Linked DNA regions of Homo sapiens: region 2 is linked to region 1. The links are contacts of gene promoters, found by promoter capture Hi-C in human tissues and cell types (Jung and others, 2019). All regions are on one chromosome and are shown on one strand. Each heading gives the region's core, a stretch centred on a gene start or on the middle of the fragment in contact. The rest is flanking DNA. Distances are from core to core; before and after follow the strand shown.

Evidence for each region. The method cuts DNA at HindIII sites, captures the fragments that hold promoters and counts their contacts. A contact is called where the count stands out against the background at its distance.
Region 2: a contact is called between a fragment that was not itself captured here and the fragment with the promoter of CCR4 in region 1, in 1 of the 25 tissues and cell types used here (adrenal gland).

The regions. Positions count from the first base shown.
Region 1 is chr3:32,950,296-32,952,995 of GRCh38, reverse strand. CCR4 (C-C motif chemokine receptor 4) reads right to left here and starts at 1,352. Exons shown (of 2, transcript NM_005508.5): 1 at 1,306-1,352. The HindIII fragment of the contact is 21,428 bases long and covers 1-2,700 here.
Region 2 is chr3:33,085,169-33,087,868 of GRCh38, reverse strand. The region is part of intron 1 of GLB1 (galactosidase beta 1); the gene reads left to right. Among named protein-coding and RNA genes, the nearest start is that of GLB1, 11 kb to the left of the region's middle. The HindIII fragment of the contact is 5,700 bases long and covers 1-2,700 here.

The DNA.
Region 1 (2,700 bases), core at 103-2,602:
TGAACAATTCTCAATTGGGTGTATTTTATATGATCATGATCATCATCAAACTGCACGTAAAAATCAATTCTACGCACAGAATCCTATTAGAGTGGGAATTCACCTGATGGATCTAGAAAACACACATCACAGCCAGAAATAAAACCTCTACCTCCCCAACCACCTTCACTTCCTATCTAAATTGGCAGATAAAGAGGTTGAAATCTTCTTAAAATTAATCACATGCTGACATGTGTATCAGAGCAATTCAGGGCTGAAGGGCTTTCCGACTCAAGGCCACTCCCTTGCTTCCTTCTTGAGGCTTTTGTGGGACCCTCACATTCCTTGTTAAAATCCTTTTCACATTCGTCAGTAAATTCACATTCGATCTCTCCCCACACCCCCACCACCACACACCCAATGCCCAAACTGTGTTTCTCAAGAAAGGGCTTTTGAAGCCAGGTGTGCAGTGGCCCACGCCTATAATCCCAGCACGTCGGGAGGCCGAGGAGGGAGGATCACTTGAGCCAAGGAGCTCCATGCCAGCGTGAGCAACATAAGGAGACCCTGTCTCTACAAAAAATTGTTTTAAAAGTTAGCTGGGTGTGGTGGTACGTGCTGATAGTACCAGCTACTCAGGAGGCTGAGGCAGGAGGATCCCTTGAGCCCAGGAGTTCAAGGCGCAGTGAGCTATGATGGCACCATTGCACTTCAACCTGGGCAGCAGAGTGAAATCCTGTCTCAAAAAAAATAAAAAATAAAAAGGAAAGAAAAGAAAAAGAAAAAAAGAAAGAAAAAAGATTTTGGTTTACTCATGCAAATAGATACTGAACACCTGTTACATCACAGAGTCTCCAAAAAAGTTTGTTGAATGACTAACAATTCTAGTCTTTCTCCACCATTTTACCAGTGAAAATGAAAGGCATAAACAAGGCTGAGGAGTTAGGAAATTATCAGGAGAACAAAAAGCCAGGAGACACAGCTGGTAAGTGTCTGGAATTATTCTGTAGGCCTTGCGTGTGTGGTATTTCTTGCCTGGGAGTCTTGCTAGAAGCAAGAAGCAGACAAGTGTATATTTTTTATGAAAATGATCTATTTATTTGGGGCATGTGGACTCAGGCCAGATGTGTGCAGGAAGAGAGTCCTGCATAAATTAGTGCCCATCAGATGAGGGCTCAGAGGGTGTGGGGACAGGTAGAAGGTGTGTGGGCTGCAAGGTAGGTGCCAAGTGTAAGCCCTAGACTCGTGAGGGGCCTGAGCATCTCAGCCAGGTCCAGAAAGCAGTGTGCGACCCAAGACCCTGGGAATGTCCCCGTCCCTGCTTACCTTGCTTTTCTGAAAGCGGCTCTGAGGAAGGTCTGTGAGGCAATGCCAGGCTTGCTCAGGAAGCACGATGCTAAGAAGGACCCGGTGCCTTTCAAGGGTGCGTGGCTTCCTGTGAGCACGAGTTATCTCCCTCACCCAACTGTACTAAGTTCAAGTGGGGTTTTTTGATAGAAGTAGGAAGCAGAAAATGATTCTTAGTCATTTCCCAAGACCGAAGGCCAAGAAGATGTGCCAAAAAAAGATTAAGAAAAAAAATGAAGTCATTTTCTTTTTAAAAAAGATTTTTAGTTTTTTTAAAAATACAAAAATGTATTTGTTGGTTTTTAAAAAAGAGATTTTTTTAAAGAAACAGGGTCTCACTCTGTCACCCAGACTGGTGTTCAGTGGTGCAATCATAGCTCACCGTAACCTTGAACTCCTGGGCTCAAGTGATCCTCCTGCCTTAGTCTCCCAAGTAGCTGAGACTAGAGGTGCAAGCCACCATGACTGACTAATTTTAATTTTTGGGGAGATAGGGGTCTTGCTATATTGCCCAGGCTCATCTTGAACTACTGGCCTCAAGCAATCCTCCCACCTCAGCTTCCTAAAGCACTGGGATTACAGGAATCAGCCACTCCTTTTTCGCTTTTTAGTTTAAAAAAAAAAATTCCATTTAACTGGCCATATGCGGTAGCAATGATCTCTACATTTTGGATCAGCAACCTGTTTGCTAGTTTCTCATCATGGATATGCAGGGGCCAGCAATCAAGATGTGCAATGTTCTCCTGACAACTGGGATCTGAGAGGCCAGGGTGAGAAGGAAGGCCAGAGATAGTCAAGAAAAAGGATATTCAAGAAGAGAGAAGAGAAAAATTTGTCCAAATGTATGTGTCTGTGAGTGACTTGGAAGGCATCAGCCAACCACATTCTTTGATTCAATAGTTGACATGGCCTCAAACCAGTGTGAAGTGGCCTGGCAACATAGCTTCAAGTCCTTTTGAGTCAGGAAGACCCCTCACCCAAGCGCCTTCTGCTTGGGGATTGCGGAGCTTCATTGGCAGTGGTCTTGGCTGAGGTCTTGATCTTCACTTTGGATGTGGGTAGCAGTCATAAGCGAGGGGCTGACATGAGCCCTAAGTCTCTCATAGCCTCAGCTTTTTGGCAACTTCCAGATGCTTTCCCTGTGTTTCAACTGTTGCTTAGCTCTTTGATTCAGCTTAAAAGAGCCATAAAGATCATTCTTTCTAAGGAATTGGCATAAATAGAAATTAAAACACTGAGCTAGAATGGTGTTAGGGAACCCCTTCTTTTTTTTCATTATCACTTGCCCCAAGGAGTCTTTTGAGACTTTTTTTCCTAACACTCCCTCATAAAATTTTAATGCTACAAACATACCATATATCTATTTATACAGTG
Region 2 (2,700 bases), core at 90-2,589, 130 kb before region 1:
AGTATTTTGTTGAGGATTTTTGCATCAATATTCACCAGGAATATTATTGTTCTGTAGTTTTCTTGTAGTGTATTTGTCTGGCTTTGGTATTAGGATAATATTGGTCTCATAGAATAAATTTAGAAATGTTCCTCCTCTTCAACTTTTGTAATAGTTTCAGGAGGATTGGTATTAATTCTTCTTTAAATGTTTGGTAGAATTCTCCAGTGAAGCCATCTGGTTCTAGGTTTTTCTTTGAGTGTGTGTGTGTGTGTGTGTGTGTGTGTGTGTGTGTGTGTGTGTGTGTGTGCGCGCATGCTGAGACATGGTCTTGCTCTGTCGCCGGGGCTGGAGTGCAGAGGCATGATCTTGGGTCACTGCAACCTCCACCTCCCAGGTTCAAGCGATTCTCCTTCCTCAGCCTCCCAAGTAGCCAGGACCACAGGCACGCGCCACCACACCCGGCTAATTTTTGTATTTTTAGTAGAGACGGGGTTTCACCATGTTGGCCAGGCTGGTCTCAAACTCTTGACCTCAAGTGATCTGGCCGCTTCCCCCTCCCAAAGTGCTGGGATTACAGGCGGGAGCCACCGTACCCGGCCTCTTTGAGGTTTTTGATGACTGATTCAATCTTTTTAATAGCTATTGGTCTGTATAGATTTTCTGTTTCTTCATGATTCGGTCTTGGTGGGCTGGGTGTGTCTAGAAATTTATCCATATCTTCTAGGTTATCCAATTTGTTGGCATACAGTTGTTCATGCTATTCTCTTACAATTCTTTATTTCTGTGTCATCAGTTATAATGTCCCCTCTTCATTTCTGATTTATTTATATCTTCTTTTTTTTAAATCTAGTTAAGTTTCTCAATTTTGTTGATTTTTTTTTCAAAAACCAACTGTTTTTTTTTCCTACTATCTTTCTATTCTCTTTTGTTTATTTCTACTCTAATATTTTATTTCCTTTTGCTAGCTTTGGGTTTATTTTTTTCTTCTTATGGAATTGTCTTTTTATAGTTATTTTGTTTGAAACAGGATCTAAAAATAGGTCTATATTTTGCCTGTGGTGTATTTCTTCAGTCTCCTTAAGTCTATAACATCCCCTTTTCCTTATTTTTTATCATTTATTTGTTCAAGTTATCTGGGTCATATGTCTTAAAATTTTATACATTTTAGATTTTGGTGTCATTTAACATGTTCATATTTTCTGTGAGCTCATAGAGCTAAAGCTCTCTAAAGGTTAGAGCTAGAGGCTGGTTGGATTCAGGTTCAACTTTTTCGCTTTTTGGGTAGGAAGAATTCATTGCTTCACTGATATTAAGATTGACCTGTTGGTCCAGGTGTTGTCAGCTTGATCCCTCCACTAGAAAATTCCGCATTATCTTTCCATTTAATGTTTCAGCAGTCATTGGTGATTGTTGCCTAATGTCATTATTTCACTAAAGATTGCAGAATAGTGATTTGTAAAATTCTACCCTTTTTTTCCTGCATTTACTGGCTATGGATCCTTTACAAAGAACTCTCCTCATTAATTATGTGGTTACTCTGAAAAAGCCTATAACAAAGGCAAGACAGATACCAGATTCTTTCACTTGATTCCTTAGTTTATAGCATAATGATCTGATACCACAGCAACCTCCAAGAATGACCAATAAGCTTTTCTTCTGGGTGGGTGAAATATTGTTAGGAATTTAGATATTTAGATATTTTATATATCTGATGTTTTTTAGTTCATCAAAGTGTTACATCTTTTAATACTCAAAATAGCCCATCTTTGGCCAGTTGGGACCTTTTCATTTTTCATTTTTTACTTTTTAGAGTCTTAGTCTTGCTCTGTTGTTCAGGCTGGAGTGCAGTGGTGTGACTGTAACTCACTGCACTCTCAATTTCCTGGGCTTAAGCGATACACTCACTTTGGCCTCCAGATAGCTAGGACTACAGGCATGCACCACCACCACCACTCCTGGCTCTTTTTTTTTTTTTTTGGTAGAGACAGAGTCTCTCTTTGTTGCCCAGGCTGGTCTCAAACTCCTGGCCTCAAGCAGTCCTCAGCCTCCCAAAATGCTGGGATTACAGGTGTGAACCTGTAATCAGCCTCCCAAAATGCTGGCATTACAGGTGTGAACCACTGCACTTGAGCTGGTTGGAGCCCTGTCATCTTGTCATTTTGATGAGACCCTAATAGTTTTGTTTTTTTTTTTAATCTAGCCCTGTTTTGTACATCTTATGCCACAGACTTGGATTAACTAATTTCTTGAAGAAGCAGCTTTGGTTACTTTTAGTGGGAAATGTTTGCAGATCACAATTTAGGCGCTATATGGGTTAGATTGCTACCCGCTGATATCATTTCCAAACTGTGTCTTTGGGTATTGCTAGGAAATGCAATACTTTTTTAGAGAGAAAAAAAATCATAAGTGTATACTAGTATTTACAATTCAAATAAGAGATTATGGATTTTATTGTTTTTTAATGGACTATATTTTTTAGAATAGTTGTAGCCTTATAGCAAAATTGAGTGGAAAGTACAGAGATTTTCCTGTATCTCCTGATTATGGGGTTCTTAATTTTGTTTGATTTTATGTTTGTTTCTCTCTCTCTCGCTTTTTTTTTTTTTTTTTTTGAAACAGACTCTTGCTCTGTCACTCTGATTGGACTGCAGTGGCACCATCACTACTCACTGCAGCCTGAACCATTCTGGGCTCAAGCAATCCTCCCACCTCAGCCTC